Linked DNA regions of Homo sapiens: regions 1, 2, 3, 4 and 5 are each linked to region 6. Evidence: promoter capture Hi-C in 16 types of primary human blood cells and fetal thymus (Javierre and others, 2016). All regions are on one chromosome and are shown on one strand. The core of a region is centred on a gene start or on the middle of the fragment in contact, and the rest is flanking DNA. Distances in the headings are between cores, read along the strand shown. Region 1 holds the start of POU2AF1 (POU class 2 homeobox associating factor 1). Region 2 overlaps HOATZ (HOATZ cilia and flagella associated protein). Region 3 has its middle 24 kb from the start of SIK2. Region 4 overlaps LAYN (layilin). Region 5 overlaps LINC02762 (long intergenic non-protein coding RNA 2762). Region 6 holds the start of FDXACB1 (ferredoxin-fold anticodon binding domain containing 1).

What was found. Contacts are between HindIII fragments. The CHiCAGO score rates a contact against its expected background, and 5 or more counts as called.
Region 1: a fragment that was not itself captured here is called in contact with the fragment with the promoter of FDXACB1 in region 6 in 2 of 17 cell types (non-activated CD4 T cells and activated CD4 T cells); the score reaches 6.7 in non-activated CD4 T cells.
Region 2: a contact is called between a fragment that was not itself captured here and the fragment with the promoter of FDXACB1 in region 6, in 1 of 17 cell types (fetal thymus). The highest score is 5.4, in fetal thymus.
Region 3: a contact is called between a fragment that was not itself captured here and the fragment with the promoter of FDXACB1 in region 6, in 2 of 17 cell types (erythroblasts and naive B cells). The highest score is 5.3, in erythroblasts.
Region 4: a fragment that was not itself captured here is called in contact with the fragment with the promoter of FDXACB1 in region 6 in 2 of 17 cell types (total CD8 T cells and fetal thymus); the score reaches 6.4 in total CD8 T cells.
Region 5: a contact is called between a fragment that was not itself captured here and the fragment with the promoter of FDXACB1 in region 6, in 1 of 17 cell types (naive CD4 T cells). The highest score is 5.3, in naive CD4 T cells.

The regions. Positions count from the first base shown.
Region 1 is chr11:111,377,652-111,381,384 of GRCh38, forward strand. It overlaps POU2AF1 (POU class 2 homeobox associating factor 1), which reads right to left and starts at 1,624. Exons shown (of 5, transcript NM_006235.3): 1 at 1,511-1,624. The coding sequence starts at 1,526. RefSeq lists enhancers at 1,551-1,600, 2,251-2,340, 2,561-2,780. The HindIII fragment of the contact is 1,814 bases long and covers 580-2,393 here.
Region 2 is chr11:111,526,809-111,530,792 of GRCh38, forward strand. All of the region lies in intron 3 of HOATZ (HOATZ cilia and flagella associated protein), which reads left to right. Among named protein-coding and RNA genes, the nearest start is that of LAYN, 12 kb to the right of the region's middle. The HindIII fragment of the contact is 5,067 bases long and covers 115-3,984 here.
Region 3 is chr11:111,576,018-111,579,879 of GRCh38, forward strand. No RefSeq gene overlaps it. Among named protein-coding and RNA genes, the nearest start is that of SIK2, 24 kb to the right of the region's middle. The HindIII fragment of the contact is 8,958 bases long and covers 1-3,862 here.
Region 4 is chr11:111,556,300-111,560,438 of GRCh38, forward strand. It overlaps LAYN (layilin), which reads left to right. Exons shown (of 7, transcript NM_178834.5): 6 at 1,242-1,344; 7 at 3,796-4,139. Among named protein-coding and RNA genes, the nearest start is that of LAYN, 18 kb to the left of the region's middle. The HindIII fragment of the contact is 3,362 bases long and covers 895-4,139 here.
Region 5 is chr11:112,292,764-112,296,646 of GRCh38, forward strand. LINC02762 (long intergenic non-protein coding RNA 2762) reads left to right here. Exons shown (of 4, transcript NR_126004.1): 2 at 964-1,166. Among named protein-coding and RNA genes, the nearest start is that of LINC02762, 24 kb to the left of the region's middle. The HindIII fragment of the contact is 602 bases long and covers 1,107-1,708 here.
Region 6 is chr11:111,876,780-111,880,462 of GRCh38, forward strand. FDXACB1 (ferredoxin-fold anticodon binding domain containing 1) reads right to left here and starts at 2,386. Exons shown (of 5, transcript NM_138378.3): 1 at 2,182-2,386; 2 at 1,777-1,933; 3 at 29-232. The coding sequence starts at 2,353. CFAP68 (cilia and flagella associated protein 68) reads left to right here and starts at 2,762. Exons shown (of 4, transcript NM_022761.3): 1 at 2,762-2,826. The coding sequence starts at 2,782. RefSeq lists enhancers at 2,054-2,673, 2,170-2,639. The HindIII fragment of the contact is 2,066 bases long and covers 1,103-3,168 here.

The DNA of each region.
Region 1 (3,733 bases), core at 237-2,736, 500 kb before region 6:
ATAGAAGGTAGGAGCTGAGGCAAAACTCCTTCCAGGGGCTCACACAAAAATCAAATGATTCAGCCCTGAGTGAAAGGGCACACAGATGCTTAGGGGCCCCCAGTAAAAAGATGAATGCCCACCTGCTCTCATCCACACAGCACTCACAACAGGGTCAGCTGCCATTGTCCCAGAAAGGATAGGCTGCCGCTGCTCCATCGCCTGTTGGGAAGAGTGGCGTGCCAACAATTCTTGAATATTCCTAGTTATCTTGGAAGGAGTCCATAACTCTCAAACCCAAATTAAAGCTCATTTCTCTTTATTTTTTTAAAAAATTGACCTTTTGATATCAAACAATGGTGGGTCTTCACAACCTGAGAAATTTTGAAATCACTCTTCTGTGTTACTGGTTAATCAGCTTAATTCCAGAGAAATTTACATAAGACATAAAGCAAACAATAAATTGGTGATGACAGTGTCACATTTTAATCAATGAAGTTATATTTTCCGAACTTTAGTGGATCCAATCAAGTATCTTTCCATAAAATAAAAACATTCCCTAATATATCTTCTTCTGTAAATCTAGATTCTCTTATATTAAGCTTGCTTGAGGCACAGCATACTAAAATTAATTAAAACGAATTTTAAGGAACCAAGAATCTTTAAGAGAAAGACAGAGCAATTTTTGGTCATTCTTCTTGCTTGAGGAAGTATAGAACTAGCCCCAATAAGGTTCAACTCTCAGAAGCTGATGAGTTGACGCTGTTTACCTCGTGAAAAGAATGTTGTAAATAATCTGTATTATTTCAGTTATTAGTAAGGTAAGTCGCTGTTTGGTCCACATAAAGGAAAATAAAGTTCACAATTGTTTCATCCAACTCCGGGGATAAAAATCAAGGCCAAAGATAAACCCACTGCATCCTTTGCAGTGGGATGGACAAGCCTTGTCACAGAAGGGGAAAAAGAATGACGAAAGGCAAGACAGTGGAGCAAGTGAGGACACGCTTCACCGAGCCAGATCTCCACTCCTCCCAGGGTATCCACAGGGACAAGTCACACCTGGCAGAAAGCTAAGTCACTCAGCTAGAAACAGGCCCAGGGAATTCAACAGAAGGCTGAAGAGCCACTGCTTATGGAAATAAAGCCCCTCCTGTAAAGAACTGCATGGCTTTTCCCTCCCAACCCCAAACCCATCCCACATCTGGCTTTTGTTGTGTGAATCATAAACTGCCCTTTCTTCACCACAGTGATTCATGCACAGAAGCGGAGGTACCCTGAGCCGTCCCACCTTGGAACACTAGTTCGTTCCCCTCCAGCCTGGAAAATCAGCATCACCTCTGACAGGCTGGTTTCTCCACCAGGCTCCATCCCGCCCACCTCCCCCCTCCCTGCTCCGGGGCTTGGAACCCAGACCCCCTCCCCCCGTGGCCCCATCACCTCCACCACCAGCTCCCCAATTCCAGACCAAGCTGTGATCGCCCTGCCCCGCTGGCACTCGCTTGGGTCTGACAGCCACAGCCAAACCACTTACGTTTTTGCCAGAGCATGGCCTGTGACAGGATGTTGCCTTTTCTCTTTGAAGCCGACAGTTTGGCTTCTTTAATGTGAGACCGGGGTGTGTTTTCCTCCAGTGGAGCCACCGCTTGAGCTGAGGCTGTTTCCTGGGCTTTTTAAAGGCCTGGGTTCCCGCTGCGTGGGCCGCGTCATCACATCCTCCCACCTCAGGCACCGGTGCAACGTTTCTGCAGCCAGGCCGCCTGTCACCCCACTGTGCGCGCCCCAGCGGCCCCGGCCCAGAGCGCTCCACACTCGGAGCTAGCCAGCTGGGACAGAGCAACAGCGCAGCGCGGGCAGCCACAGCCTGCACCGGCCCCGCGGGGACCTGCTGTGTGTGGGTGTGAAGGTGGTGTGGGGCAAGCTGTGGGAACCCCGTGTCAAGCCCTCCCCAGGCCAGTGATGAGCCCAAAAGCTCCTCTGGAAAACGTTGATCTTTGCACGGCGCCCATGCAGGCTTCCAGGCCACCAGGGCATGGGCAGGACTCAGCCCGCCATGGGCGCCTGCTCAGCGGGAAATGCGATTCCCAGGGGTCACTGGTTCTCAACTGGGAGGAAACACCTGTCATCTCTTCAAGCCTCAGTAAACAACCTCCTCATTCTTTCAATATTGCTTTTCTGTTTATTCCATTTTGAAACACAGTAGCCCCTCCCCTCGCCCCCAGCCACCCCCAAAATGGCAAGGCTTAATCATGCTGAAATATGGGGGCGCTGGCTCTGATGTCGGCTATGCCCACGGAAAAAGAGGCCAACCCTCAAGGAAGGAAGGAGAACATGCCCGTGCTCTTTGACTGGATCTGGGCTTGTAGGCACAAGATGAACAGAGCCTCTTTGCGAGTGCCCACCCACTGATAACAGGAAGCTTCTTTAAGTAAGTCATGGGCTCACCATCTGGAAGTGTAGATGGTGTTGGCTACCGGTTCCTTCACAGTTTGGAAGCCTTCTGCCACTGCATATCTGAGGTCCACATGCTCAGGCTCCAGGGACTCAGTCAGTTTGGGGTCAAGACCCCTTGGCACACCCCCTAGAGCAGGTGTGGGGCCTTGCTGCTCTGCCATCCATACTGCCTCAGAGCCATCTTGCACCACCTAGACCTGATCATGCTATCCCCTAGCCTACAAAGCATTCACCTTCTCCCTTCAGCCACAGAGCTGGAGGCCTAGAAGGCCTCCCACAATCGAGCCGTTGCCTTCCTTTCCAGCCTCACCACCAACTGCCCTCCTACCACTGGTCCCAGTGCCCTCTAAGCACCACCAAACACCCATGCAATTCCCTGCCTTTGACCTTGCCGTCCTCTCTTGCCGGAAGGACAAACCCCCAGCCCAGAGAATACTTGTTCGTCTTCTCAGATCTTAGAGCACTTTGTTCATTATGTGATGGTGAATTGTCACATGACTCTGACAGTTTCTCAAGGAGGTTTCATCTTTGCCTCTCCAGTGCCCCACACAAGACCTGGAGCATAGTGACCCCCAATAAAAATTCATCTGATAAAGTTATGAATTACTGTCTCTAATCGGTTGCTGATTTGAGGGCAGGTCTTGAGGAGAAATGCTGTCAACATTTTATAAATGATTCACTTAAAAGCCAGAGAAGGCTGTCTCCTGGCTGCCTATAAGCCCTCCCCGCAAAGCCTCTGAAGTTCAGGACAGTGGAGGCCCCCATGCTGTGGTGGCTGGCAGCCCACACCCTGGCCTGGCAGGGGGCAGCATCTCAAGGCCTTGGGCTGCGCCAAGGAGTTTCCATGAGAAACAGAGGCACATCCCTCAGGCCTGCCTCAGTCACAGGAGACGTGGGTTCCCATGAAGGCTCTGACACTCACTCACTGTGTCCCCTTCAACAAGTCACATAACTCTTCTAGCCTCAGTTTCCTCATCTATAAAATGAAGAACCAGTTCTGTGAGTGTCTCACAGGTTCGTAGGAGGATATGTGGCCTCGCTGGTCCTCTCTCCCACGGGTCTGTCTTTTGTCTCTTTTGGTCATGTCTTATTCTCTCCAAGTCCGTGAAATTCAGAACTTTTTCTTATTCATCTCAGTTTCTCCCCACAGGCCTAGCATGATGATTTCCACAAAGTAATAATATAACCACTTACTGTGCAAGAGGCTCCATGTTAAGCCTTAAATACATTACCTAATCTAGTCACCACAACAACGCTGCAAGGAAACGTCTACCTGTATTGTTCAGAGAAACAAACAAATGCT
Region 2 (3,984 bases), core at 1,398-3,897, 350 kb before region 6:
GAACAGGAAAGACATATCTGAAAGATGAGGTCAGTATCATTCACCCACTCATCATAGCTCATATAACCAGCAACAATGAAAATCTTCAAGACTCAGTAGTCTTTGCTAAGGAAAAGCTTTGATAATTATTGCAAACTGAATCATCAATAACATATAATTCAATCATATAGAGTTACCCTCAATATATGTATACTTTGTTGAATTTTAAAATGCAGTGCTCATTTTATGCTCATATTTTCTCAATATTAAAATACAAATCTCACTTATTACTTTTTTAAAATAAGTGCCTTTTAAAGCAATATTAAAGCAGTTTTTTAAATCACTTGTACTTCTGCTCTGCATGCATTTTGTGTGTGCATGCATGTACGTTCTTCAGGCAATTATTATTGGTAAAATATATGTAACAGATCTAAGAAAATATATGTAACAGAACCAAGAAAATACACATTTTTTTCTTCCTCACAACAGATAAATTCATACTTGATTGAAATCTGCATTTAAGAAAAATTGTATTGACTCCCTCTTATATAATGACTAATTTTTTTTCTCATTTTAGTAAGTTGTTATTTTTCAAATGAAAAGTGTATATGTCAGACCTAGGAGTTGAGCCAAGATCAAGCAATTTCCAGGAGGTATAGAAAGGTGCTTAGATCTGCATCTTTTTCCTGCAAGTCAGCATTCTTCCTTTCTCTGATTAATAATCCTGTAACATCTTCGATCCACTCCCATAGATTACTATAGTTAGGTCTATCTTTTAAAATCAGATTATACTGGGGAAAGCCTTCTCACTGATTATTCAGCCTGTCTTTTAAAGTGCATAGTAGATAATTTGAGGTCCAACAGTTCTGTATCTTATTATTAGAGTAGATATAAATTTCCTATATGGTAGTTGTAGAATCAACATAGCAGATTTCAGTTAATAGGCACAGGGAATGGTAGTAAATTCATAGAGTAAATTCATAGTTGAAGCATTCTGTTATCAAAATCAGCAAGCCAAGATGCATACTGCTTTTTGAAACCAGGCCCAAATATGAGATGTTTTAAAATGATAAATCAATAAAAACCTTAAGTCAATCATAATTCTCACCTTCCTAATGATTGCATTTGTAACATAAAAATGAAATGGAACCCACTGAGGAGTGAGATTCTTGCAGAATGTGAACTGAAATTCCCTAGTACACCTATAGACAGTTAACTCTCAATCACTGGGATAGAATTAAAAATTAAGGCTAGGTATGGTGGCTCATGCCTGCAATCCCAGCACTTCAGGAGGCTGACCAAAGTGGGAGACTGGCTTGAGCCCAGGAGTTCAAGACTAGCCTAGGCAACACAGGGAGACCTCATCTCTACCAAAAAAAAAAAAATCGTTTTTTAATTAACTAAGCGTGGTGGCATGTGCCTGTGGTCCCAACTACTTGGGAGGCTGAGGTGGGAGGATTGCTTGAGCCCAGGGGGCAGGAGGTGGAGGTGGCAGTGAGCCCTGATGGTGCCACTGCACTTCCACCTGAGTGGAGAGCAAGACCCTGTCTCAAAAAAAAGAAAATTAAATTCTGGAGGCTCAAGGAAATAAAAATCAGATAATGTTCTCAATTTCTGTTAAACCATAGAACCTTGGCTCTGCCTAGGTAATATTCTGAATTTGGAATGTAATTCCCATTTTACAATTAATTTATAATTTAAAATCCTTGCATAAATATTTCATTTACACTACGATCTTAGAAAGCTCCTCAGTTTATAAATACCACTATAATTCAACTATCTTTACCCTTTAGCCACATCTTGCAAAGAGCCACATGATACCTTCAAATAAGTAAATTAACTATGATCAAGGCTGAGCTCAAGCTGGATTAGCTCCACCTGCTGTATTCTGATAAGCATGCGTTTTCTACAAGAATAAGAATGTTTCTGTGAGAGCAGAGACTATATTTTTCTTCTTCAGCATGGTTGATGCTAACTCATTTTTAGAGTAAAGATTGAATGAAGAAACCATTCTGTCACTCTGTGTGTGTGTGTGTGCATGTGTCTGAAGTCTGTGTGTGTTTGAAGTCTGTGTGTTTGAAGTGTGGCAAAAGAAGCACAGGAAATGACATCCAACAGAACTGGAAATGAGTTTAAATCTTTGGCTCTGCCAGTTACTAGTTAGTTAAGTGACCCTGATAAAAGTTGTTCATTTTTACGTGGTTTAGTTTCTTCTACCTGTAAAGAGGTAATAATAATAATGCCCACTTCACTGTGCTATAAAGATAAAATGAGATAACCTATAAGGAACTCACACAAGGCCTGATATCTAGCAGTTACTCAGTGAAAGTTTGTTTTTATCTTCTCTGCTTCCCCCTCTTCCTTTTTTTTCCAAACCCATGATTGAAAAATAAAATTTTAGCAGGTTCAAAATAAGCATTAGCATTAAATGGAAATGCTTTGACTAAAAGGGTAACTCTCAAAGGATGATGACTAGATTACTAAAGGCATGATCACTCAAGTATCCACATCCTGATTAAAAGACAGAAGATTGGCTTGCTCATAGTGTTAAAATGAGACTCATATTATTTTCTCTTAATCTTTTTCTTTTTTTTTAAGACAGAGTCTCACTCTGTCGCCAGGCTGGAGTGCAGTGGTGCAATCTCGGCTCACTGCAACCTCCGCCTCCTGGGTTCAAGCGATTCTCCTGCCTCAGCCTCCCGAGTTGCTGGGACTGCAGGCGTGCACCACCACACCCAGCTAATTTTTGTATTTTTAGCAGAGACGGGGTTTCACCATATTGGCCAGGATGGTCTCGAACTCCTGACCTCATGATCCTCTTGCCTCAGCCTCCCAAATGCTGAGATTACAGGCATGAGCCACCGCACCCGGCCCCTCGTGTTATTTTTGATGAATGTTTCAGTCCAAAAATTTCAATCATAATCCACGAAAGAAATGCAGTTTGTATATGGGAACCAGGTCTTGAGAAGAAAGGACCTTTCTTCTAAAGTCTAGTGTTTATTAAGAGCTTTTTTTATAATTGAATATTAACTGAAAAGAAAGTTGATAACACACCAGAAAATTCGTGGTCAGAAGAATTTGCACTGCATATTTAATAACAAATCATATCTTTAACATCTCTCCTTGTTTCTCCTTTCCTCCCTCAAACTGTATTCACCAACTGACCCATAGGTCAGAGGTTGAATCGTAAGAATTCCTTCATGCCTGTAGACAAAAAGCAGACAATCTGTCCTCTTTTTTCTTACTCTTTTCAAGATTTTAAAAGCACTGAAAGAAAAATTTTCTAATAATAATAGTGTTATAATAACTACCATTTATTAAATGTTCACCATCTGTCATGCATTTCATTAAGTAATTTTTATCTCCAATTTTCACAACAACCTTCCTCACAGATTAGAAATCCACAACTGGGATTGTGGATTCTTTGGTTTACCTAAGATCACGAAGCTCTAACTTACATGTCAGTGATTACTGCATAGTTGTGGTGGGGAAAGGAGGAACCAGGCGGGAGAGTTAAGCTAGAACTTGCCATTCAACACACAGCGGAACTGGGATTCAAACCAAATGTATTTGACTCTACTAATACATATTGCCACTCAAGTCATTTGGCTCTGAAAAGCCAAAAAGAGAGAACCAGACAATTTAACTCTTGAGGTGACATTAAAATTCATTAACCATCTATAACACATTAAATGTATATGTTATATCACATCCTAATTTTCTGGAATCAGTTTTCTTTCACAATTTATTTTTTCAGGAATAGTATAAATATAAATCATAAATAAAAATATAAATATAAGTCACTAGTCAATGGTCAAAGATGTTATAAAGATAAATTCTGACCCCCTTGTATTAACAGTTAATTGAATAATTATAAAGTCTTATAAAATTCCATTAATAAGCCCAACCAAAACACTATAATTAGAAATGAAAATTTTTTGTTAATATGAAATTAAGAAGTAAGTTATGCTTCCTTACTAATAATATAAGTTATAAGGATCTTCT
Region 3 (3,862 bases), core at 71-2,570, 300 kb before region 6:
CAATCAATGTGTGTCACTCTTTCTCAGAATCAGTTTTCTTAGATTTTTCTCTTATTTATTCACTTATAATCTATACCCTAAGATATTTTATAGATTTTTTTTCTGAATTCTGAGACATCAGTTGTAATGAGATACCATTTAAAGAATGTTTTGTTCCACTTCGTACAGGGTTTGTTTATTAAATCGAGAATTAGTGATAGATCAAGAAGAAAGAAAAGGGGTGTTGTTCTCATTTGCCAAACAGAATATAGATTAGCCCCAAGTGAATTTTCATCTTAATTTCTTTCCATCCTGCATCATTAATTCTTGTTTTCTGAACTTGGTTTAAGTAACCCTACTATCACAAAGTCATCTGCTTTTAGACTAAATAAAAGGTCCTAGAAATGCTCAGTCACACAGTCCAACCATGGGCTTCAGGTGACAGTGTCAGCTTATACTGGAAAGCCTGTGTCCATGAATCTGTTCCATTTAGTGTCAATAGTTAAAAGAACCTATTTGAGGCCATTGCTGAGGTTATGATCCCCTTGATGTTTCTTCCAGAGACTCCATTATTAATTTATTGATTAATATCAAGGGTGTTTAGATAATTGCAAAGGAAAAGAAGAAACTACCTGTTGACGACAAGACTGAATGGCTTGGGTTAATTTACTATAATAATTAATAGTATCTACAATAAGAAAAATGAGACATAATGTACAAGTATTTTTAAAGGATTTAATCAACAATTGCTCCGAAAGTAGTAACATCCTATAGACAACAAAGGCATTGACAGATCTCCAGGACTTTTTAATTTATCCCAATGTGTATTTTTTGGTAACCAATTGACACAAGTATTTTAAAACAGAAACGTTGACTAAGTCTTGCCGACAGTTATTGTGCCAGTCTTCACACATTACCTTGAGTATGCTCTATCTGTCCTGAAAGACTACAATTGCTGAAACATGTTCATTTTAATATTAATAACATGCTTTGTATATAATTGACCAAATATTAATAACATGCTTTGTATATTTTTGTATATAATTGACCTAGGGAAGTTGGTTTGCCAACCGTTCCTATACTATGGGCTTGGCAAATGCCGTCACAAATACAGAGAATTCCAAGTATATTCAATGACTTCCGGCAACCCTCCTTTTACAAAATGAGAAAATAAACTTTGATGTTGTCTAAGAAAGAAACCTCAAAGACAGTTTGGTTGTAAAAGATATATTAACAGTTTTACTATTCAGAATATGAGAAAAGCCAGTCTAAAAAGTTGTCGGCCAGGCGCGGTGGCTCACGCCTGTAATCCCAACACTTTGGGAGGCTGAGGCGGGCAGATCACGAGGTCAGGAGTTTGAGACGAGCCTGGCCAACATGGCGAAACCCCGTCTCTACTAAAAATACAAAAATTAGCTGGGTGTGGTGGCAGGCGCCTGTAATCCCAGCTACTCAGGAGGCTGAGGCAGGAGAATCTCTTGAACCTGGGAGGCAGAGGTTGCAGTGAGCTGAGATCACGCCATTGCACTTCAGCCTGGGCAACAGAGTGAGACTCAATCTCGAGGAAAAAAAAAATTGTCAAAGGAGACAAGATGGGAGTATAAATCATAAGTGCCTAAACATGCGAAATGGTTACAATCTTTGTTATGGTGAAAATACACAGTAGTGTGTAACAATATTAGGAATTGTAGTCTTTTCAGAAGTAGAGTTTGTTTAAAAATTATTTCAGTGAATGATTTAAAAATCAGACAAAATGTTATCAGGCTTCAAATAAGTATATTTTAGTGATACCTGGAATCTCTGCTAGTTGCACACAGAAAAACTTTTTGTTATTTCTTGTGATATGGTTTGGCTCTATGTCCCCACCCAAATCTCATCTCAAATTGTAATCCTCTTGTGTTGAGGGAAGGACCTGCTGGGAGGTGATTGGATCACGGGGGTGGTTCCCCCATGCTGTTCTCGTGATAGTGAGAGAGTTCTCACCAGAGCTGATGGTTTTATAGGTGTTTGGAAGTTCCCCCTTTGCAGCACTTCTCTCCCTCCTACCACCTTGTAAAGAAGGTGCCTGCTTCCCCTTCTGCCCTGATTGTGAGTTTCCTGAGGCCTCCACGACCACATGGAACTGTTAGTCGATTAAACCTCCTTCCTTTATAAATTACCCAGTCTCAGGCATTTCCATTTCTTTTTCTTTCTTTTGTTTTTGTTTTTTGTTTTGTTTTGTTTTCCAAGACAGGGTCTCGCTCTGTCACCCAGGCTGGAGTACAGTGGCGCAATCTCAGCTCACCGCAATGTCCACCTCCCGGGTTCAAGTGATTCTCCTGGTCAGCCTCCTGAGTAGCTGGGACTACAGGCGCATGCTACCATGCCGGACTAATTTATGTATTTTTTGTAGAGATGGGGTTTCGCCATGTTGCCCAGGCTGGTCTTGAACTCCTGAGCTCAGGTGATCCACCTGCCTTGGCCTCCCAAAGTGCTGGGATTACAAGTGTGAGCCACCATGCCCAGCCTCACAGGCATTTCTTTATAACAGTGTGAAAATGGACTAATACACTTGTTAGTATTAACAAGTTGAGATCGTATACTCAAAGCTCAATGTTCTTCTGAAATACTTGGCTTTCTCCTCCTTATCACTTAAAGTTCCCTTTTCTCAATAAATTTAATATTCCACTATTTAGACATACAAAATGCAGTTAAACATACAAAAATAAATATACATCCTTAAATGGCAAACATGAGGCTTTAAATTTTAACTTCAAAATATATTGATCTTACCAGAATATTACAAGGTAATGTTTATCCACATTAAATTTACCATCTTAGTAGAAATATAATGCTGCTCTTGAAATATAAATGGGGCCAGGTGCAATGGCTCACACCAGTGATCTCAGCACTTTGGGTAGGCCAAGATGAGCAGATGGACTGAGTCCATGAGTTCGAGACCAGCCTGGGCAACATAGGCCCCATCTCTATAAAAAAAAATTTAAGAAAAATCAATAGACAAAACATATCCATTATCTTGTGTATGCATCTGTATCTCTTTGCAACAACTGTATGGCCTCAACCACCATGAATACTAGTTCCAGCTTTCAACCAAAATAATCAACATCTGCTCCCTCAAAGGCCCAGAGAAAATGGAGAGGTGAGCAACTAAGAACAGTCTATTGCACACAAGTACCTTAGCAGAAAAGCAAGGCTCAGTGAAGGCCTCCTGAGTCCCACAGGCTCTAGCACATATATATTTCACATTTTTCAAAATGGAAAGCATGAACATGTGAACTAACATACAACCCAATTTTTTTGTTTTCTTACAGCACATGGCCAGTCTCATTCCATCCAAAACCCCACCCACTACCAACTCATCCCCAGGTTATTTTGAAGCAAATCCCAAACATTATCTCATTTCATCTGTAAATATTTCAATAAGAATCTCTAAAAGATAAAGATTCTTTTTTGATCTTTAAACATGATCATAACAATTATCTAATGCAAAAATTAATTCCTTAACATCATAAAATATTCAACCAGAGTTCACATTACCCTAATTCTGAGCATTTTCAACTTCATTATTTAAATCAGGATCCAAATAAGGTTCAATACATTGCAACTGAGCAATATGTATTTTAATTCTACTTTAATTTATAGGTTTCTCTTCCATCCCCTTTTTCCTCTTGCAACTTTTTGTTGAAGATACCAGGTCAATTGGCCTGAATTTGCTATGGTGTAACTTAAAATGTTCTTTATCCCTGTTTCCTGTAAATTGTTAGTTGAATCTAAAGGCTTAATTAGATTCAGGCTCAATCTTTTTTGTTTGTTTGTTTTGCAGATGTGTAGAAAAGACTCTAATCTTGTCCAAAAAGGGGTCTGGCCTTTGCCCTGTATTTGG
Region 4 (4,139 bases), core at 1,326-3,825, 320 kb before region 6:
TCAGTGTGTTCACCAACCAGGAAGCTCCACAGAGCTTTCGTGTCCAGAGGTTTTATTGGGGGTATCAATGCATAGCAGTCTCCAAAAGAGGTCAGGCTGCTATCACTAGGCTCAAAGCCCCAACCCTATCATCACATGGTTGGTCTTTCTGGCATGGCCAGCCCCCGTCTGAATCATCTCCTTATAAACCCTCTTATGGTCTGAGGGGCTCATGAATAACAAATTCACTCCTATTACTGGGGAGAGTCCAAGGATTTAGAGCCTCTCTCCCAGGAACCAGGGACAAAGGCCCATCAGATTCTTTATTATATAACATATATGTGAAAAAAGTACAAAGTGCTCTGCAAAGGTGGGTGGCATTTCTATTGCTCATTGTTATTATGGTGGTATTTAAAGTGGGTTTTGAGGGTTTAGGGGTTTTAGTGGTGGTCAGGTTTGCAATCTCACAGAAGAAAAGCCAACAGCCTCTGGATAGTCAGGAAGCTTGGGTCAGTGGGAGTAGGAAGAGGGTTAGCCTCCAATCCTTGATTCCTCCCAAAGCCACTTGAGGGGAACATCTTTGGTTCTAAGTCTTAAAGGACTAGAAAGTTCAGAAAAGTAAGCCTCTAAGTGCTCTTCACAGTCATGGCTCATGGACCCAACTGAATCTAATTGGTCTTAGAAATGTCAGAAAGGTTTTACACTGTAATTTACTTGCTTCCTGTGACCTCTTTCCTGGTAATGACACTGAAACTTCTGGCTTGCTTCTTTTTCCCTCTCTTTCCCCCATCCCATCGTGGGAACTCCGTGACTGTCCTTGGAGGCAAAAGCATCAACACTGCCCCAGCGGCCCCTGCTTTACTAAGGGAGGACAAGAAAAGAGAGACTCTCTTTTCTCTGAAAAAAAAAACAAAAAGCTTAATTAACAAAAGTGCCCTTCTGATATTTGGAAGACCTAAAAATTTAAACTGATTTTCATTATCACTTAGGGTAATAGGACAGGTAGAAAATGCTCATCCATCGAAACCAGAAGACTCTTTGCTAACTGGCTAGATGTGTCTTGATCACTCAGGAATGAGCTCTTTGGAATACTCTGTGTTGATTAGCCTTTTCCTTTGTTTTGTTTTTTAATTTTTTAATTTTAATAGATTTGGGGGTACAAGTGGTTTTTGACGATTATGCTTTTTTTAAGCCTGGTTTGAAGCACAGAAAAACAAAACAAAAAACAGCCAATGCTGATCATGTGCTTTCTTTCTTTTCAGAAGCTGCCTTGAATCTGGCCTACATCCTAATCCCCAGCATTCCCCTTCTCCTCCTCCTTGTGGTCACCACAGTTGTATGTTGGGTTTGGATCTGTAGAAAAAGGCAAGTAAAACCTTCATTGTGTAAACCTTTGCATCTTCTGCTCTCTTTGAGATTTGGATATTGCCTTGTTTACTTCATTAAAACCCACGGCAGCACCAAGAGTATCACCATTGCAGATTGGAGAGTGGGTTCTCTGACAGGTCAGGGCATTCAGAAGTACTAGGCATTTGTGCTTAGTTGTGATTAAGAGAGTGATCTTACTTGCTTTACTGTCTGTACGTGGAAGATTTTAAAACAACTTGAAGGGTGAAATTGCATTATTCACCTCCCGTGCACTCACACGTCACCCAGCAAAAATGCTCTCATGAATGTATGCCCTCACTCTGAAAATGTTTGTGGACTGAGTGAAGGAATGAATAGTGAGCCATATGAAAAATGACTGCTGCAAAGTATTCTGGTAAACATCTGAAACTAAACCACTTAATTCAAACTGAAAGAGCCAAATTCCTTTTAACTGACTTTTCTTTTAATTCAGTACACAAGTATAGAGTGCTATAAAATAGCTACACTAGGTGGCATCAACAATTTCTGTATATGGTCAGGATCGTGTGCCACTATTTTATTTTATTTTATTTTATTTTTAGTACTGAAAGCTCTTCTCAGTTACCTTTTTATTCTCCATCATCATGGTATATGGAGAAGATGTCTAGTATTCCCATTTACAACAGGAAAACTAAGGCCCAATTTAAGATTTGACTCCCTTTAAAGACCAATTTGAGATGAATTAGTAAGATTCCAATGTAAAATCTATTTCAGTTAATTGTAACTTCCTTGTAGGATTATTATAAGGATTAAGGCAGTTAATACTTGCAGAATAAGTATATACTAAGCACTTGAATGTTACCTATTATTGGGATTATTTTATTAGTTATTTCCTTTGAATCTTAAAGTAGAATTTAGTTCAAAAAATTACAGGCATATTTTCCAGCTGCCTACTCTGCCTACTCAGTTGGTTCTTGATTTCCTTTCCTGACTCTCTGTTTTGTACTTTAACAGGATTTGGGAATTGTGACTCTAAAGCTGGGGTGTCTGTCTATCCCAAGGGTTTTTAATCTTTTTTGTGCCCTGCAGCAGTCTGGTGAGGCCTATGGACTCCTTCCAGAACAATATTTTATTTTATTTATTATTTTATTTAAAAAAATATATATATATATATATATTTGAGACAGAGTCTTTCTCTGTCGCCCAGGCTGGAGTGCAATGGCGCAATCTCGGCTCACTGCAACCTCCGCCTCCCGGGTTCAAGTGATTCTCGTGCCTCAGCCTCCCAAGTAGCCGGGATTACAGGCACATACCACCATGCCTGGCTAATTTTGTATTTTTAGTAGAGATGGGTTTCACCATGTTGGCCAGGCTGGTCTCGAACTCCTGACCTCAGGTGATCCGCCCACCTCAGCTGCCCTAAGTGCTAGGATTACAGGCATGAGCCACCACACCCGGCCCAGTACAATATTTTAAATGCATAAAATAAAATACATTGGGTTGCAAAGGAAGCAATCATACTGTTATATAGTTTAGCAAAATATTTCCAAAAATGAATATGTGATTAGTAATACATGTACTCCTTTATTAATGCTTCTTTATTTAGTGCTGGGTATAATTATTATAATTTTGAAGTAGAGATGAGGTTAAAATATTTCAAGGCATCTATAACTGTGATATGAAAACATCTATAATTTCTAGTAGTGATCAAGTCAAAGATATTAATCCTGCTGTTTTATCTCTTACATTCATAATGGAAGGACATGCTAAATTTCACTTATGGATGAGTCGTGTTTTTTGTTGTTTTGGTTTTATTTTATTTTATTTTATTATTTTATTTTATTTTATTTTATTTTTGAGACAGGGTCTCACTCTGTCGCCCAAGCTGGAGTGCAGCGGTACCATCACAGCTCACTGCGGCCTTGACCTCCCAGGTTATCCTCCCACCTCAGCCTCCCAACTAGCTGGGACTGCAGGTGTGCACCACCATGCCTGGTTAATTTTTGTATCTTTTATAGGGACGGGGTTTTAACATGTTGCCCAGGCTGGTCTCAAACTCCTGGGCTCAAGTGATCCACCTGCCTCAGCCTCCCAAAGTGTTAGGATTACAGGCGTGGGCCACTGTGCACAGCTGAGGTGTTTTTTTGTTTTTTTGGGTTTTTTTTGTAATGTGGTATTTTTTCTCTATTCAGTTCTATCCCTGGACACTCCAGGGACTCTAGGGAACCCCAGGATAATAACCCTGCCCACACTTGGGCAGCAGTGAATGACAGATACACAATCACTTTGAACATAACATCTCCCTGTTTGGTTCCCTCCCACTCCGAAGCCCTGGCCTGTAAGTTACATAGACGAGACATGCAGCTGGGTGACTGCCCAGGGCTGCTTCCTCTCGTCTCAACAGGAAGCACAAGGGTATTCTCAATCACCTGGTCTAAAACACTCAGCCCTGGTTTTCTTTCTTCCTAGAAAACGGGAGCAGCCAGACCCTAGCACAAAGAAGCAACACACCATCTGGCCCTCTCCTCACCAGGGAAACAGCCCGGACCTAGAGGTCTACAATGTCATAAGAAAACAAAGCGAAGCTGACTTAGCTGAGACCCGGCCAGACCTGAAGAATATTTCATTCCGAGTGTGTTCGGGAGAAGCCACTCCCGATGACATGTCTTGTGACTATGACAACATGGCTGTGAACCCATCAGAAAGTGGGTTTGTGACTCTGGTGAGCGTGGAGAGTGGATTTGTGACCAATGACATTTATGAGTTCTCCCCAGACCAAATGGGGAGGAGTAAGGAGTCTGGATGGGTGGAAA
Region 5 (3,883 bases), core at 158-2,657, 420 kb after region 6:
CAGTCCTGTGAAATTGGTAAGTTGCTCACACCATTCTCTCTCTTATTTTGATAGACTTCATCTATTTTGAGGGACTTGGCAGTTGCTCCTGCCTTTGGTTGCATTGTTTGGCATGTGACAGGCAATTCTTTTTGCATGAGTCTCAGTTACAAAACATAACACAGTTTCTACTTAAGGATACCTTCTTTTCTTGGGTCCTGTCAAGCACTTAGTTTAAAAAAAAAAAAAGAATTGCAGTGGTTGGTCCAATAATAGACATTTGCTTCAGTAATATCAAATTACATCCTGCTGCTTGAATTCCATGCCTTTCTGCATACATAATAACTTCTCATTTCAATGCCAAACCATAGTGTAATCTTTTAAAAGACATTTTAAATGGCAATTAAACTCACATGTAATTGCAACAATGTATACAACTCAATTAAAGTGCTAACAACATGAACAACTGAGACCAAGTTCACCCATGCCCAGGTCTTGATGACCTCACCATGGCAGCTCCCTGGCCCAGGGTGATTATAAGATGCCAGTGATTGCAAGACTTGGCCTGATTTCAGAAGTGATGATGTGGCAACACAGACATCTTAGAATTAAGGAAATAGTTTTAATTCTTGGTGCTCTTTCTTGGCATTCTGAAAGTGTTCCTCCAGTTTGCCATCTAAGATATTCCTTAGTTTTCTGCCATGTCCATTTCACTCATTTACTCCTTCCTATATGACTTTTAATTATTGTTTAATAATTTAATTTTCTTGGGAATATCTTTCTCTTGTTACAACCAGTTTCCTTTATATCTTTTCTTGGACTCCATTGGCCAAATTCTCTTTCATAAGCCTGAAGCCCCTAATATTTACCCTGAGACTGTATTCTAGTTAGTAGAATGTGAATGGAGGTGATGTGTGTGACATATAGGACTTCCCCATAAGAGCCTTTAATGAGTTGTCCTCTGTTCTCTTTCCCCTCTTCCAGCTGAGTGCCATGAGAGGACAGTGACAACCTTGGGGCCTCATGGTGAAGGTGGCAGAAACTTTGTTAGCCTGGGTGCTCAGGGTGGACAGCTGCTCTTGCCAACCGGGAACATTTGCCTTGAGCTCTTTTGTAAGTGACAGATAAGCTTTTATTGTACTTCAGCCAAGATACAAACATTGGACGTATTTGTACAGCAGCTAAAGGTACTATAATAATACATATTCTGAAATCACTATGTACCCTAAAATATTTTAACAAAATTCTTGCAATATTTGTATGAGAACTGCTGGATTTTGCTTTCTTACCAAATTTGCTGTTGCTACTGAAAAAAGAGAATAACTTGGACAATGAAATGATCTCAAATGAGGTAATAAAATCATTACTGAATTTTAACAGTCCCATCATTTCTGCCAAAAAAAAGAAGCAGCTTTAGAATGCCATTCTTCTCCAGTGGGTGTGTGCTGGTCTGATTTGCTCGGACGTTTGCAGAGGGAAGAACACTTACAAGTAGTAAGGGGCTGAAGTCTGAGTGGATCATATCTGAATATTGTTTAATATTGTTTTAGATGACATATTTTTTAAAACTCCACTCTTCTAGCTAACTGCTTTCTCTTGATATCCTAAAAGTTTTGCTTCACTGTTTATTTTAAAAGAATCACAATTAGGTCTAACATAAACAAGGGAGCCGGCCCCCCATCACACTTTTGTAAGAACCTAAAATGTCATCTCACATGCCAGTCTTTGAAGCTTATCCTGATATCAGTTTAACTCAGCTTGTTTTCTGTATCTATATATCTATATGTATTTGTGTGTGTGTATATATATATGTATGTGTATATATATGTTTTTCAGTTTCAATTTCATAGGGCCATATTATGTTTTTATATTATAAATGCCAGTTTTAAAACATTTTCTTCTGGTTTCTATAGTAAGTTATCTTCAGAAGTGTGCTCTTTTTCTTAGTCTTCTGGGTGAGGCTCTGTTTCCCTTATTCTCTTATGGTGAATGCTGTTTTTCCATAGGCCTCCTGAGGGTTCCCTCCCCTATATCCCCAATTCCAGCCTGGCACATTGTTTACCTTTAAGCAAGTAGAGCTCCATGGAGCCTTGGTGCTTGCTTGCTAAAAGAGGAAGTGTAGACTGTGCAGATTGTCCTTGGCTTTGCTCACTGCCTTATTCCTAGGTCTGTAGCTGAAGGTCAGTTGTGGTGCACAGCTCCCCAGAATTGAAGGGCATTCATCTTGTGCGGCCCTGCTGAACTGGCATGGGATCTCTCCCTTCCTCTTCTGCCTATTCTCTAACAAACAGAACTGATGGGGGATGTGAAAATCTTACTCTCCAGCACAAACTACCTTTGTGCTTCCTATAAGGCATGCTGTGTGGAAAAAATGCCTTCCAAAACATGACGTGCCATTGCTAATCCTCTTCCCCTTCCTACTCTGTGGTTTCCCAGTAATTGCATTCTATGAATGGATGTAGATAGAGGGAGAGGGAATAGTTCTCCGGCTCCTCCAAAGAGTAGCAGTCATAATAGAGAGCCAGGTTTTCATTTGGCTTGGTCCTGGGTCTCTGAACTGGGGGTAGACAGTAGGAGAGAAAGAAAATGTCTATCATCTTTCGAGACAATGTGCTGTTCTGTTTTCTAAGGCGAAGCATGGACTGTTTGTCTCAATGCAGCTCAGCTTTAGCAGCTTTATTTAGTTAGTAGAGATTCCTTCTAGATTCTGGTAACAGGTTGTTAGTCTTCATTTTCATTATTGTTGTGAGTTTTTGTCATTTTTCTGTGTAATAAATAATTTAGGGAGAAGTTTGGAGACACTTTGTCAGGAACTTCTAGCCAAATGCCATTTTAAACTCTAAGTGGACCTGATTTTATTTTACTTAAAAAAATTAGGTCTGGGAATGAGTTCAGTTTATTTATTCGTCATGTTCTGCTTGCCTTAAACCACTTATGAAGTGTCCGCGGCCTCCAAGGTTGCCTTCCAATGCTTTTCTACATCTCATTGCTGCCTGCACCTTTGGAGGAGGCAGGGTGAGTGAGACCTTTTTTGGTAGCTTGTAGCCATGCCAAGCAGTCATCAGATGGTGGGTAATTTCTTTTACCTAGGGTCTCATTCACGGTTCTTTGGTTGTTAATAATAGAAACCAACTACAGCCAGTTGTGGGGTAGCGGGGTGCGGGAAGGGGAAAGAGTACATTGTGATACTGGGATATCTTACAAGATCCCAGGACAATTGGGCCTTTTAAGAGGTGGGACTGGGAGCTCTGAAGCTGTTAGGAGCCCATAGTCCTTGTTCATTCTCTTCCTCTGCATCCCTGTAAAAGAAACATTAATTGCAAACAAAGTCCTGTTCAGGGTGTACATGTGACTTTGCTCCTCACGTGCATGGCATAAAATGGATGCCCCATAGCTCCTGAGTTTTCCTCTTGTTTATCCAAGTAACCAGCTCAGATTGACTGGATGCCTCTAAGTCCTAATTTCAGACTCCCAGGGAGAGAGAGAACTGGATGGGCTTGGGTCACGTGACCACCCTAGTCCAGTCGATATGGATGTGTGTCTGTGTATGAGATGGTACAAGCATGACTACTGGCAGTTGTCAGAGAAAGGGGCTTATTTTGAACTCGGCAAGTCCCTGCCACCCTTGGCTTTTGGAATCAAACCCCCTAGACCCAATCCTAAGGGGAGCAGGAGTTCCTGGCCATGTGTTCCTTGGGCAGAGTGGAGCACTCGTCTTCCCACTGTGCTGTGGGGTCTTGGGGGGCTCTCGTGAAGAACTGTTGAGTAATTTATAAGACCGCACACCTGCATCTCCGGCTGACTCCCATTACATTTTCCTTGGCCTTGTTCCCACTCCCCTCTAATCAGAAAGACTCTTTAATGAGAGATCCACATTTTGCAAACTTCCTTTCTAGCAGAGACA
Region 6 (3,683 bases), core at 1,136-3,635:
GAAGGCTTAAACCTATGCTATTACCTACCTATATCCAGTGCACTTGTACCCTGCCACAGCCTTACAGCTGAATGGATACACGTCGCTTAAAATGAGCCCCCCCAGGGCTGCCATGGCAACCACTTGCCAACTGTTGTGCCATTCTCTCTGGGGCTTATCCGCAGGAGTTCCACCTTGTCCTCTACATAATGCCACGTGGACTTCTCCTTCCTCTGCAAGAACGTCTGCACAGCTAATAGGGAGAAAAGAAACACTAACTAATTATCATAAACAAGCAGAAATTACCACAGGAGTTGGCAACATACACATGGTTTGCCTGTGAAATAATTAAAATCCAATCATACCTATGTGCAAAAATCTATTAGACCTCAAAAAATGCAAAGAAAGTAGCTGGAAGTAAATAGAAGCATAAATTAAATGTTCAACCCACTCACTGATAAGATTGGCTGACCAGGGTCTGCTTTGCATTTGTGTCATTCATGCATATGTCACAGAAAGATCAATATCTGCACAGTTCCTATATATGATTCATTGCTTAGGCTGTTTCTTCCCATTTAGAAAGTTCTTTTCACTGCCCTCCTGAAATTCAAATACTAGTTTAAAATACCACCTCTGTCAAAACTTTATTGACAGCTATGCCCCATCGGACACCTCCAATAGTATCATGTCTTGTGGTATAATCATGTAAAGCACTGTTTTCAGTTCACAATAATTTTATGAGGCTGTTAGTTACTTTTTTTTTTTTTTTTTTTTTTGAGATGGAGTCTTGCTCTGTCGCCCAGGCTGGAGTGCAGTGGCACGATCTCAGCTCACTGCAACCTCCACCTCCCAAGTTCAAGCGATTCTCCTGCCTCAGCCTCCCAAGTACCTGGGACTACAGGCACGTGCCAGCACGGCCAGCTAATTTTTATATTTTTAGTAGAGGCGGGGTTTTGCCACTTTGGCCAGGCTGGTCTCAAACTCCTGACCTCAGGTGATCTGCTCACCTCGGCCTCCCAAACTGCTGGGATTACAGGCATGAGCCACCACGCCTGGCCCAGTTAGTTACTATTAATATCCCTAGTTTACAGTTGAGGAAACGGAAGCATGTAAAGATTAAGTAAGCTTGCTTAAAATAACAACTGTTGGCCGGGCGTGGTGGCTCATGCCTGTAATCCCAGCACTTTAGGAGGCCAAGGCAGGCGGATCACAAGGTCAGGAGATCGACACCATCCTGGCTAACACGGTGAAACCCCATCTCTACTAAAAATACAAAAAATTAGCTGGGCGTGGTGGCGGGCGCCTGTACTCCCAGCTACTTGGGAGGCTGAGGCAGGAGAATGGCGTGAACCCAGTAGGCGGAGCTTGCAGTGAGCCGAGATTGCACCACACCACTGCACTCCAGCCTGGGCGACAGGGCGAGACTCTGTCTCAAAAAATAAAAATAAATAAAAATAAAAAAATAACAACTGTTAAGTGGTGGGCTGGGATTTGAATCCAGGCAGTCTGGCTTCTAAGTGCACGTTCTTAGCCATTAGACTATATGGCTCTCATTATTTTGCACTGTCAAAAATAAATGATCCTCTTTTACACACCCAAGAGTACATTATTTGTACTTTCATTTAGCATTTAGGGTTTATATATCTGTCTTTCCAACTAAACTTGGGGTTCCTTTGGGGCTTTATAGTCTCTTCTAAACATATCATAGTAGCTTGCACGTGTGCCTTATGTTTGGGTACAGTAACTATGTTATGGACATCTTAAACATTTTCCTTGTGAGGGCGCTCCTTTCCTCACCTTTGGAAAAATTTGGCAAGCAGTTCCCTGTTCTTAGCTACGCCAGCTTTGCGTCCACAATGCGGGAAGATGAAATAAATTTGATCAAATTCTCTCTCGTGCAGTTCAAAGACATCTGCCAGCTGGGTGCAGTCCACACCGAAACGTACATCGATACCTGGCAAAGATAGTTTGGGGGCGCAAAATATAGACAGGAGGATGCCTCAAGACATGGAACAGAAAAACTCTTCCTAACTTAAACCGTGCAGACCAGCCCAAGTCTGGGCACAAAGCCGGCTTTATGTGAATATCCGTGGGACGATCAAGAACAATCTCCACGTGGGTTACATCCCCACGCCCCCACCCTTTCCACTTTGGGACGCGCCGGCCGCTGGGCGGGGTTTCGCAGAGGGGCGGGCTCGCTACCTCGCTCGCGCAGGCACTGCAGATTCTCCCAGGCCAGTGGATCCCGAGCCAACTCGGCCGGGCGCTGGAGGCAGGTGGCGGTAAGTTGAGTGCTCTGATCCAGGGTTTCGCTCAGAGCGGCGGCGAAGGAGAAATTCCCCTCCCCAACCAACAGGAGGCGCCGAGGGGCCATGGCCTCCACGGACTCCCGGCTCGCGTTCTCTGTGGCGCTCGTTTTACGTCACTTCCTTCACGGATCTCTCTCCGCCCCGTCTTCTCCCGTCACTAGTTGATGACGCACCCATGGCGCCTGGTTGTCTAGACGAGCCGGTGTACCGACTCCCCGGTGGATGATAACTATGAGTGCAAAAGCAAGACGCGCACTTTCCTGTCACCTCGCCCTTTCACCCCCTCGGGAAGATCAAAGTGTCTTTAGCCCAAGCATGGCCTTGAGCGACTTCATCACACCTGCATGAGGTCACAAGCAGTCACTAGCGCAGGGGGGTGAGGCGAGTTCTGGGTGAAAGAAACGGGGCGGGGCTGAGGCCAAGGAAGAGGTTGGACTGTGTCTCGCATGCTCCTGACGCAGAAGGTTTTGAACCTTTTTTCACCTCGTCTGAAATGGCTGCCTCCCAGTGTCTCTGCTGCTCAAAATTTCTCTTCCAGGTGCTTAAATCTCCTATCTTCTATTCGTTCAAGAAAGAGTATTGAGTGTCTATTGCGTGCCAGGCCACTGTGAGGGTGGTTACGATATGTGGATGAACAAAATGTGGCCTATGATTTCAATGAGCCTGCAGTCTGGTGGGGAATGCACAGAGCAAAACAGGCAACTCTGATATGGCAGGGTGTGTGCTCTGGGAGCACACAGAAGAACGTTACCAAGTTTGGGGGCGAAGAGGGTCAGAGAGTCCTTGGATGAAGTAAACCCGAGTTGAAAGCTAACAGGGTAAAAGTGCATCTTAACTGAGTCAAGAGGCGTGAAGAGGCAGAAGGAACAATATATGCAAAAGCTTGATGGAGAAACAGAATAGTTGAGTTTGGCTGAAACACAATTGGAGGGAGAGTAACAGATGAGACTGAAGAGTTAGGCAGGGGCCAGGTCATAGGGAGCGTTGTAAGCCTTTAAAAAAAATCAACTTTTATTTTACAAATGGGGGTACAGGTACAGGTTTGTTACGTGGATATATTGCACCCAGGTAGGTTGCAGGTTTGCTACATGGGTATATTGCACCTAATAGTTTTTCAACCCACACCACCCGCCCTCCCCACTCTAGTTAGTAGCCTGGAGTGTGTGTTGTTTCCATGTTTAGGTCCATGTTTGCTCAATGTTTAGCTCCCACTTATAAGTGAGAATGTCAGAGGTATTTATACCAGAGCAACTCCGTCTTGAATAGGGGCTAGGTAAATAAGGCTAAGACCTGGGCTGCATTCCCAGTAAGTTAAGGCATTCTTAGTCACAGGATGAGATAGCTCAGCACAAGATACAGGTCATAAAGACCTTGCTGATAAAACGGGTTGCAGTA